Regions from separate parts of the Homo sapiens genome. Here regions 1, 2 and 3 are each linked to region 4. Evidence: promoter capture Hi-C in human tissues and cell types (Jung and others, 2019). All regions are on one chromosome and are shown on one strand. The core of a region is centred on a gene start or on the middle of the fragment in contact, and the rest is flanking DNA. Distances in the headings are between cores, read along the strand shown. Region 1 overlaps SYN2 (synapsin II). Region 2 has its middle 11 kb from the start of HDAC11-AS1. Region 3 holds the start of NUP210 (nucleoporin 210). Region 4 holds the start of RAF1 (Raf-1 proto-oncogene, serine/threonine kinase).

Region 1 (2,700 bases), core at 80-2,579, 520 kb before region 4:
GGATCACTTGAGCCCAGGAGTTCAAGAAAAGCCTGGGCAACAAAGTAAGACCCTGTCTCTCCAAAACATAAAGAATTAGCTGGGCATGGTGATGTGTGCCTGTAGTACTACTTACTTAGCAGGCTAAGGCAGGAGGATCACCTGAACCCAGGAGTTTGAGGTTACAGTGAGCTATGGTTGTGCCACTGCACTTCAGCCTGGGCAACAGAGTAAGACCTGTCTCTAAAATAACAACAGTAAAATGAGGGGCTTGGACTAGGTGGTTCCTAAGCCCTCTTCTTTATCTTGGGTTTTGGAAATGGGAACCAAAATGATGTATGGCCTGAAGTGCTGGTTAATGGCAAACCTGCCTCTACCTTCTCACCAGGTCCTTCCGGCCAGACTTCGTGCTCATCCGGCAGCATGCATTTGGCATGGCGGAGAATGAGGACTTCCGCCACCTGATCATTGGTATGCAGTATGCAGGCCTCCCCAGCATCAACTCACTGGAATCCATATACAACTTCTGTGACAAGCCATGGGTGGTGAGTGAGGCCCCCTTCCCCCAAGTAAAAGGGTAGGATTCAGGCCCTACATCTCCCAGGTCCCTAGCAGGGACTCAAGATGCAGTAGGCCCCAGCCCCAGGAGGGTCCCTACATCTTCCAGGCCCCTAGGAGGGTCCTCAAGATGCAGTTGGCCCCAGCTAAGAGGATGTGAGAGGAGCTTCCCCTGGGACATGGGGGAGGGCTGGCCATCAGAATAGCACAGCATCACCTGTCACAGGCTCAGCACCTTTGCTGCGGAGTGGACCTTTGGCCTCACAACAAAGTCGCACAAAGATACCGTGAAGAAGCCCTTATAGGTCTGTAGGCTCTGCCCTTGGCCATAGGCTGCAATGATAAAAATGTCTGTTTCTTGCCTCCTAGAATGATTAAACTTTTGGAAAGGCCTGAGCCCAGTGACAACCAAGGGAATAGTCCAACTCAGGTAGTGACAGAGTCCTACCAAGTGGTTCAGCAACCTGAAAATGAAATTTATCCTCATGCATGTGAATCAAATACTTATGAGCTAGAAGTGTCTTGGAGATCATCAAAGCCTAACCCTAATTCTGACCTTAACCTTTCATGATAGAGATATGAAAATTAAAGAAGGAAAGTAAGGTGTAGAAAACTACTTACTATAGGATGCCAGTTTCTGAGATTTTTCTGTTAATTTCATTTAATCCTCACCTTACAAGGAAGATATCATTATTGTCACTTTTTACAGAGAAACAAAACCCAAAAAGGATTAAGTAACTTGCCAAAGTTACAGTGCCAGGATTTCTCTACATCCCACTGCCTCTCCCATAGATTGAGGCTCCTATATAAGGAGGAAACTGTTCTGGTTTTCTCTTCCTTGGCCAATTTGGAAATCTAGGAGGGCAGTGGAAACTTTTAGGCAGATAGAAAAAGTGGGGCTAGGAGGGAGAGTGACTTATGATGGCTTTGGGGGCACTCTGGCTTCCCCTCCGACCACTGAGGGGACCCAGCTCCTCTGCTGGCTCTGCTACTTCAGGCTGGCCCTCTCAGAAGGTAACACCTACCCCTAATCACATCCTCATTGGCTTGCAGTATGCAGGCCTCCCCTGCATCAACTCACTGGAATCCATTTATAACTTCTGTGACAAGCCATGGGTGGAAAGTGAGGCCCCCTTCCCCCAGGTAAAAGGCTAGGATCCAGACCCTGCATCTTCCAGGCCCCTAGGAGGGACTTCTGGACCCCAAGATGCAGTAAGCCCTTCTTGTTTTGTAAAAATGAAATTTCAGCTGTCACACGCCCTGGATTGCCAAGGTTCCTGGAACTTGTGTCTAATTGTGAAGTTTCCACGCCTTTACACCACTCAGAGAGCTGAAGAGGGGTGTGTGTGTGTGTGTATGTGTGTGTGTATGTGTGTGTGTTAACCAAACAGATCTGTCACTTCTGATCTTGATCTTTTTTTTCACCCTGGAACTAACAGCTTTCTTTTTCCTTTTGAAGCCAGGGAGAGCTTGGAGTGTAAGAAAAAGATCAATGGACAAGTAGTCAGGAGGGCTGGGAGCTGCCATGGTTAAGGAGGGGGTTGGGTTCCCAAGCTCCACTTGTTCAGCCTTTCCTTCTGCGTGGCCTGAGGCATCTGGAATCCTAGATTCTGCAGAAACACGCTAACAGAGTGTGATTTTAGTATGTTGCCAATCACAGAAGAGCATATGTGAGACCTTTACCAAGTGTCTTTTTTGTGGACCTCCCCTTTCTCCTCAGTCACATGTCCTTCCTACGGCACACGTGTCCTAACCCACGTGCACCCCCGGTACTTGTCAGAATTTGACTCTCTCCTAGCCACACAGGGTGATCCTGCTATTAGCAGCTTTTTCTGGGTGATTTCACTGCTTATCAACTCTCTGACCGAACCTGTGCCCCAGTTTCTTCATCTACAAACTGGGAATAATAGTAGCACCTGCCACCACTTTGACAGCCTGGTTGTTACAGGCTCCTAGTGTATGGGTTCTCTTAAAGAAATTTGTGGCCAGACGTGGTGGCTCACGCCTGTAATCCCAGCACTTTGGGAGGCTGAGGCAGGCACATCACGAGGTCAGGAGATCAAGACCATCCTAACTAACACAGAGAAACCCGTCTCTACTAAAAATACAAAAAAAATTAGCCGGGTGTGGTGGCAGGTGCCTGTAGTCCCAGCAACTTAGGTG
Region 2 (2,700 bases), core at 89-2,588, 800 kb after region 4:
AGAACCATGTCTAGGCCTAACCTTGGCCGAGTTTGAGTCTCAATGATTTCCCTGCAGACTACAGACTGCTTGACCATGCAGAGTGTATTTAAATAATGAAAGCACACGCTAACACGGATGAAACACCTAAATGTAAGAGCTAAAACTATAAAACCCTTAGAAGAAAACACAGGGGAAAATCTTCATGACATTGGGTTTGGCAATAATTTCTTGGATAGGATACCAAAAGGATAGACAGCAAAAGCAATAATAGACAAATGGAATTACATCAAACTTAAACATTTCTTCACCTCAAAAAAACCAACAGAGTGAAAAGGCGACCTACAGAATAGGAGAAAATATTTACAAATCATATATATGACAAGAGGCCAAAAACCAGAATATATAAAGAAGTCCTAAAACTTAACAACAACACAATAAAAAATGAATAAGGGTCTTGAATAGACATTTCTCCAGAGAAGATATACAAATACCAACAAGCACACGAAAAGGTGCTCAGCACCACTAACTAGTAGGGAAGTGCAAATCAAAACCACAATGAAGGCTGGGCGTGGTGGCTCATGCCTGTAATCCCAATACTTTGGGAGGCTGAGGCGGGCTGATCCCCTGAGGTCAGGAGTTAGAGATCAGCTGGGCCAATATGGTGAAACCCCGTCTCTACCAAAAAATACAAAAATTAGCCGGAAGTGGTGGCACACGCCTGTAATCCCAGCTACTGGGGAGGCTGAGGTGGGACAATCACTTGAACCCGAGAGGTGGAGGTTGCAGTTAGCTGGGATAGAGACACTGCATTGCACTCCAGCCTGGGTGACACAGTGAGACCCTGTCTCAAAAATATATTTATAATAATAAAAAATTAAAAAAAACCCACAGTGAAATGTCACTTCTATTAGGAAGTGAAATGTCACACTATTAGGATTGCCACTATTGAAAAAAAAAAAAAGAAAATAACAGCTCTTGGCAAGAATGCGAAGAAATAGAACCCTTGTTCTGATGTGGGAACGCAAAATGGTATAATTGCTGTGGAAAACAGTATGATGGTTCCTAAAAAAATTAAAGATAGAATTGCCATATGATCCAGCAATCCCACTTCTGGGTACATGTCCAAAAGAAGTGAAAGCAGAGACTCCAATGGATATTTGCACGTACATGTTCATAGCAGCATTATTCACAATAGCCAAGAGGTGGAAAGAACTTAAATGTCTATTGACAGATGAATGAATACAGAAAATGTACTCTGTTCATATGATGGAATATTACTTAGCCTTAAAAGGGAAAGGAATTCTGAGCTAAGCTACGACATGGATGAATCTTGAGGACATTATGCTAAGTGAATAAGCCAGTCACAAAAGGAAAAATACTGTGTGATTCCACTTACATGAAGTACCTAGGGCAGTCAATTTCATAGACAGAAAATGGAATGGGGGGTGCCGGGGCAAAGGGGAGGGGAAAGAGCGAGTTAGTGTATAAGGAGAAGACAGTTTCAGTTTTGCAAGATAAAAAAGTCCCAGAGGGCCAGGCGTGGTGGCTCAAGCCTGTAATCCCAGCACTTCGGGAGGCTGAGGTGGGCAGATCACCTCAGGTCAGAAGTTCAAGACCATCCTGACCAACATGGTGAAACCCCATCTCTACTAAAAATACAAGAATTAGCAGGGGGTGGTGGCGGGTGCCTGTAATCCCAGCTATTCAGGAGGTTGAGGCAGGAGAATCACTTGAACTCAGGAGGTGGAGGTTGCGGTAAGCAGAGATTGTGCCATCGCACTCCAGCCTGGGCAAGAGAGTGAGACTCCATCTCAAAAAAAAAAAAAAAAAAAAAAAAAAAAGAAAAAAGAAAAAGGAAAAGAAAAAGAAAAAGAAAAAATAGTTCTAGAGACCTGTTGCACAAGGATATTTAACACTACTGAACTGTATACTTACCCATGGTTAATATGGTAAAGTTCATGATTTTTGTGTTTTTTTTTTTCGAGATGGAGTTTCGCTCTTTTTTTACCCAGGCTGGAGTGCACTGGTGTGATCTTGGCTCACTGCCCCCTGGGTTCAAGCAATTCTCCTGCCTCAGCCTCCCGAGCAGCTGGGATTGCAGGTGCCCGCCACCATGCCTGGCTAATTTTGTGTTTTTAGTAGAGATGAGGTTTCACCATGCTGTCCAGGCTGGTGTTGAACTCCTGACCTCAGGTGATCGGCCAACCTCGGCCTCCCAAAGTGCTGGGATTACAGGCATGAGCCACCGTGCCTGGCTGGTGTTTGTGTGTGTGTGTGTGTGTGTGTGTGTGTGTGTGTATGTGTGAGAGAAGTCTTGCTCTTGTGCCCCAGGCTTGAGTGCAATGGCTCGATCTCACCTCACTGCAACCTCTGCCTCCCAGGTTCAAATGATTCTCCTGCCTCTGCCTCCCAAGTAGCTGGGATTAAGGCTCCTGCCACCACGCCTGGCTAATTTTTGTATTTTTTAGCAGAGACGGAGTTTCACCATGTTGGCCAGGCTGGTCTCGAACTCCTGACGTCAGGTGATCTGCCTGCCTCGGCCTCCCAAAGTGCTGGGATTACAGACGTGAGCCACTGCGCCCGGCCTGGCTGGTTTTTACTACAGTTAAAACTCAGACACTGGTGGCCAAATCTTGTTAAATTTTCAAATGCTTCCCTTACCCTCCCATGTTGCCAAATTCATTCCTACTTGTCACTGAAGCTGCAATGTCCAGTCCA
Region 3 (2,930 bases), core at 397-2,896, 760 kb after region 4:
TACTCGGGAGGCTGAGGCAGGAGAATCGCTTGAACCGGGGAGGCGGAAGTTGCAGTGGACAGAGATCGCGCCATTGCACTCCAGCCTGGGCAACAAGGGCTGGAGTGCACTCTAAAAACAAACAAACAAACAAACAAAATTAGCCAGGTGGCCTGCACCTGTAATCCCAGCTACGAGGCGGGAGAATCGCTTGAACCCGGGAGGTGGAGGTTGCAGTGAGCCGAAATCGCACCACTGCACGTCAGCATGGACGACAAAGCAAAACTCCGTCTCAAAAAAAAAAAAAAAAAAAAAAAAAGAAAGAAAGAAATAGGGCAAATAGTGCAAGCAACAGAGAAAGCTGGCTGGTCTGAGCTTCGGGCATCACACTTACATACACGCACAGACTAATACTCAAACAGGCTTGACACACACATGTCCAGGCTTACACACATGGCTGTCACGTGGTCACACCCCGTTCTGCCTCAACCTTGACCCAGTCTTGAAACAGAAATAAAGGGAGCAACTACTGAGCATCCTGGGGGTGGGAAGGGCGGAAGCCCATCTTTTCACCCCTAGGACGGCTGGGCTGGGAAGCTAAGGGCGCTCAGTCGTGCCCACGCAGCCTTGCCAGGGGCAGGAGCTCCATTTCCCCTGGTCTGCAAAATGGAAGGGCTGGACTGCACCGCCCTGTCAGTGTCGGTCTCTGGTTTCATGGGTCCCTGTGGTTCCACAGGGTCACACTCCGCATCCGACCCCTTGGAGAACTCCCAACCCGAGAGGGAGGGTGATGGAAATGCCCTGAGCATCAGGACCCGCGCCGAGGCAGCCTGAGGGGAAGCGCCGGCCTGCCTCGTCTCACTTCGCCTCTGTAAAGCGGCCCCTGGGCTTCCCTCCAAAACTCCTTTCCTCCAGGGTCTCCGTTCCTCCCCGCGACGCTAGGCGCTGCGCTTCGTTTCACAGACTCACTTCCCACGCCAGGGCGAGGGCGGTCACAGACAAACCCGAGCTGGGGTCCCAGACTCAAGGGAAGTGCGGCCCAGCTGCCCCGGCGCCCCCTCCCGGGTCAGGCCGGCTCGGGCCCGGCCGGCTTGGGCCCTGCGGTCCCAGACGCCGCTCCCCAGGCCACCCCTCCTCCCGCACAACCCAGAACACGCGGGTCACGGCCGCCAGGCTGCGCCCGCTCTGCTCGCGCCTCAGCGGCGCGGAGGCCCGGACGGCGCCATGACATGAGCAGTGGTGGCGACCCACGCGCACCCGCCGCTCCGAGTGCTGCAGCCTAGCGCCCAGCGAGAGCGCGCCGCGCACCTGCCGGCTCTGCCGGCCTCCCGGCGCCCGCCCAGCCTCTCAGCGCGAAGGCCCAGCCCGGCCCACGGCGCCCGCCCGGCCCGGCCGCGCGCCTCACCAGCGGTAGCAGCCCTCCGAGGCCTCCAGCGTGAAGTTAACGCGCGTGGCCCGCGTGAAGGGCAGCAGCACTTTGGGGATGTTGAGCTTGGCCGCAGCGGCGGAGGGGCCCGCCGCCAACAGCACCGACAGCGTCAGCAGCAGCAGCCCCCGGCCCCGCGCCGCCATCCTCGCCGCGCGTCACCTCCCGCGACCCTGCGCCCGGCCGCCCGCGCCGCCCCGTTGCCCTCCGCTCCCGCCCGCGCGCGCGCCAGGCCAGCAGGTGATGAGCGCGGGGGCGGGGCGAGGGCCGTCGGCGGCCGCCGCTTCCTGGGCCTGAGCGCGGGAACTCTGGGGGCCGAGCTCGCGGCGACCCCACCCCCAGCCCGGCCCTCGCGCAGGGACGCGGGGCTGGGGGATGGGCGCGCGCCCGGGCCCCCGGAGCTGAGGGAGAAGGCTTGGGGCGCGCCCGCGGGGACCCCTGGACCCTAGAAGTCCCAAGGGGGAGCCCCCGGGGCGCCCCGCAGCACGCATCCCGCCCTGGTATTTGCCCCTGGCGGTGGAGCCAAGCCGCCGGCTTTGGACCTTGCGCTCTGGCCCGGACCCACGGTCAGCAAGGAAGGGACACATGCCCCAGGACATTTGGGATGCAGAAAACCGGCGCCTGCCTTGTCCCAGCCCATGCTTCCCAGAAGAGGGACCCCGGGCTCGCAAAGGGAAGCCACCTGCTGAAGCGCTGAAGGCCCGGGGCCCGCTCCCCCTCGACCCCCTCACACCCTTTCCAGAGAGGCCTTAAGATTCCCATTTCTCCAGGAAAAAACCGGTTGAATGGCCCCCAGATCACTCAGCCAGAGAGCCCCAAGCTCTTGTCCTCCGCACTGCACCCCCTGCGGAAGCCATTAGAGGTTACCTATAGGTCATTTAGGGCGCCAACGCTGCCAGAGCACAACCCCCTCCACGGCCCCCACACCCACAAAAGAAAGTTTAGCACCGCGGAATCCACCTGCACACCAATGGAAGGCCTTAGATTCCGCGCTGTGCTCTGTGGCTTTTAGCTGTCTGTCGTGAATTGCATGAAGGCATGCGTCAGCAGGCACCTGACTGCTTGGTGCCGCTAAAATATGAATCTAGCCTTGCAGAGAAGGCCCAGCCTAGCGGGAGGTCAGGAAAGGGTGGGGTGAGGGTGCACTGGCCGGCTGTCTGAGGAGTGCAGGAAGTGGATGCTGACTGTAACCAGGAAGACACACAACGATGCCACTGGGTGACCAGGAAGGAGAGGATAAATGTCAGTAAGGCTAGGAAGGCTTTTTGGAGGCGGCGGCCCCTGGGTTGGGCATAGACACCGCACTGGGCTTCAGCGAGGCCCGCATAGGCTGAGCCTGCCCCTCAGGGATCATGGGGCTTTTGGATGGTGATGCGGGGTGTTTGGGGTCACCCTCGAAGCCTGAGGGCCCTAGACCAGGGAATGTGTGTGTTGGGGGAAATCTCTGGAGATAACCAGAACTAAGGGGGTGAGGGTCGGCCCTGTGTGGAACCAGGTGCTCTGGGAGGGGAATTCCAACGGGCTC
Region 4 (2,700 bases), core at 113-2,612:
CTCGAGTGTAGAAGCTTCCTCAACTCCTCCCCAAGCAAAACTAACTGTTCTAAATCCCCATAACACTTGATAAGCCAATTCTTATCACACTGCATTGTTTTCACGCCTTAGGAGCGCAGGGAGGGCAGAGTCTCTCCACTCAGCCCACAGAGGACCAGGCAAGCAGAAACGCTCAATGAACGTGCCTTGAATTCATTTTCCACTTAGATTAAGTGACCCCCTAGAACCCGTTCACATCTCAAGGATACACTAAGTTCCATTCCTTCTTCCCACCACAGAATGAATACCAGGGGCACACCCAGAGCCCTAGAACGAGAACAATGAATGAACACGGCCGCCTCGCCTCTCACGACGTCCAAACCCCTCTCTCTTGGGCATCGACTCGCTCGCAGAGCCTCAGCAGCTGCAGAGCTGAAGCGTCCCGGCGGCTCTCGCGTCACACAAAAGACAGCCCTGGCTCTTCATTCCAAAGCGTCCTGAGGCCAATCCTCTATAAGTATCCCAAACCTTTCATTAATAACCCAGAGTCCTGATACCCAAGGCTAGTCCTGATACCCAAGAAGAGGCCCCTGTGCCTTTGTGGTAGGGCACTGGCCAGTTTCCTCCTCTCTTACCCGATTCCTCACGTCGTCTCTAAAAGGGTGTCACTTGACTGAAGTACCCTGAGAAAGGGTGCAAGCCCGGGTCCCACATTCGGCGGCCCAAGAGAAAAGGAATTGGCCCATCCAAGTGACAACAGATATGGGGCAGCTCTGGGCGGATTTTCCCACTGCCAAATATGAGGAATGCGCATGGCATAAGGGTGGCGTTGGCACGTTTCCGCCAAACACAAGGAAATTTGAGTGGGATGTGGGAACTCGGCTCGCCGGCCATGACACCGGACTCCGGGGCCCCCGCCCAACGCTACCCCAGGGTGACAACGGCCTGGCCCAAGCCCTCTGCCCGGCAGCCGCGGGGCCGCTCCATCAGCGCCACCCAGGCCCGGTCGCCCTGGAAGCCGATCCCTCAGCCCCGCCGCCCGGCTCCCCCGGCATCCACGACCCGGTCCTGCCACCTACCTGAGGGAGCCAGGCCGCCCCAACGTCCTGTCGTTCGGCGGCAGCTTCTCGCCCGCTCCTCCTCCCCGCGGCGGGTGAGGGAGCGGGAGGCGGTCACATTCGGCGCGTCCCCAGCCCAGGGGACGGAGCCCCGAGCAGCCCCCGCATCGTAGCAAACGCGCTCCGCGCCTCAGGGCACGCGCCCCAAAGCCCGGCCAGCTGACCCTTTTCGGGGCCCAAAAAAGGCAGCAGAAAGCCGTTCCCGCCTCACAATCGTTTTCCTCTTACTCCCGCCATCTAAGATGGCGGCCCAAGCGCCCGCGATTAAGACTCTCGGGCGGCCCAGACGAGCGAGCCCTCGACTCGGTGCTCGTCCTCCCGACCTGCGACGCCACCGGCTCTCCGATTCTGCGCGAGCCCTACTGGCAGTCGACTTCTAACTTGGCTCGGGCATCCATCGCTCTGGCCTGAACTCAGGCCCCGCCCCCGGGGCGTGGCCTAGCGATCTGGTGGCCGCCATTTCGAAGCTGAAGAGGTTAGGCGACGCTGACTTGCTTTCAGGAGAGGCACTCGGTAATCGAGAAGAACCGGCTTTCGGCCAGCCAGGAGTGGCCAGAGGCCTAGAAGGGGAGAGGAAGGCCTGCCTGCCCAGCATTGCAAGGCCCAGCGATCACCAGACGTGCCTCAGGACACAGGGCACAGTGTCCAACTTTGACGCGTCCTCTCCGGGCACTTTAATACCAAATCACGGCTCCGCCACTTGACAGCTATGTGGACAGTCCCTGAACCTTAAACGGTCTTTTCCTTGTGTGTAAATTCCGAGTTCATTTTTCCCCCATCACATTAGCAACAAGTTAAAAAAACTGATAATATCCGGTTTGGTCCAAGGTATATTGAAACCTGTTGTGTGCCCTCGCAGCGCTATCACAGTGGAACTTGGACATGTTAAAAGTATATATCCTTCCTCCCGGCAGTTTCACTTCTAGACACTAATTCTAGAGAAATAAGTATACACATACACAAAAAGCTATGTGTGAAGATATTTAATGCCATATTATTTGCATTCTGGAGAAACACTGGGGATGAAATGAAGATTAATAGGAAACTGGTTAAGAGAACGCTGCTACACATCCAATCTGGGTTGTCATCCATCCAAGAATGAACTAGATAGTTACTGAATTTAAAAAACAACAAAAAAAGGGCCCGGCGCTTTTTTTGGGATTACTCCTGTAATCCCAGCACTTTGGAAGGCCGAGGCAGGCGGATCACCTGAGGTCGGGAGTTCGAGACCAGCCTGACCAACATGGAGAAACCCCGTCTCTACTAAAAATACAAAAATTAGCCGGGCGTGGTGGCGGGCGCCTGTAATCCCAGCTACTCAGGAGGCTGAGACAGGAGAATCGCTTGAACCCGGGAGGCAGAGGTTGCAGTGAGCCCAGATCGCACCATTACACTCCAGCCTGGGCGACAGAGCGAGACTCCGTCTCGAAAAAATAAATAAATATAAAAAAATAAAAATACCAAATTAGCTGGGCATGGTGGTGCATGCCTGTCATCCCATCTACTCGGGAGGCTAAGGCAGGAGAATTGCTTGTACCCAGGAGGCGGAGATTGCGGTGAGCCGAAATCGCGTCATTGCACTCCAGCCTGGGCAACAAGAGCG

The links. Contacts are between HindIII fragments. The study calls those that stand out against the background at their distance.
Region 1: a contact is called between a fragment that was not itself captured here and the fragment with the promoter of RAF1 in region 4, in 1 of the 25 tissues and cell types used here (spleen).
Region 2: a fragment that was not itself captured here is called in contact with the fragment with the promoter of RAF1 in region 4 in 1 of the 25 tissues and cell types used here (adrenal gland).
Region 3: the fragment with the promoter of NUP210 here is called in contact with the fragment with the promoter of RAF1 in region 4 in 1 of the 25 tissues and cell types used here (spleen).

The regions. Positions count from the first base shown.
Region 1 is chr3:12,145,312-12,148,011 of GRCh38, forward strand. It overlaps SYN2 (synapsin II), which reads left to right. Exons shown (of 13, transcript NM_133625.6): 4 at 368-524. Among named protein-coding and RNA genes, the nearest start is that of TIMP4, 12 kb to the right of the region's middle. The HindIII fragment of the contact is 7,152 bases long and covers 1-2,700 here.
Region 2 is chr3:13,467,643-13,470,342 of GRCh38, forward strand. No RefSeq gene overlaps it. Among named protein-coding and RNA genes, the nearest start is that of HDAC11-AS1, 11 kb to the right of the region's middle. The HindIII fragment of the contact is 7,067 bases long and covers 1-2,700 here.
Region 3 is chr3:13,418,676-13,421,605 of GRCh38, forward strand. It overlaps NUP210 (nucleoporin 210), which reads right to left and starts at 1,647. Exons shown (of 40, transcript NM_024923.4): 1 at 1,385-1,647. The coding sequence starts at 1,551. RefSeq lists silencers at 862-1,431, 1,482-1,881. The HindIII fragment of the contact is 28,440 bases long and covers 1-2,930 here.
Region 4 is chr3:12,662,755-12,665,454 of GRCh38, forward strand. It overlaps RAF1 (Raf-1 proto-oncogene, serine/threonine kinase), which reads right to left and starts at 1,363. Exons shown (of 17, transcript NM_002880.4): 1 at 1,059-1,363. RefSeq lists enhancers at 445-1,055, 1,056-1,667, 1,279-1,628, 1,669-1,738 and a silencer at 869-1,088. The HindIII fragment of the contact is 15,309 bases long and covers 1-2,700 here.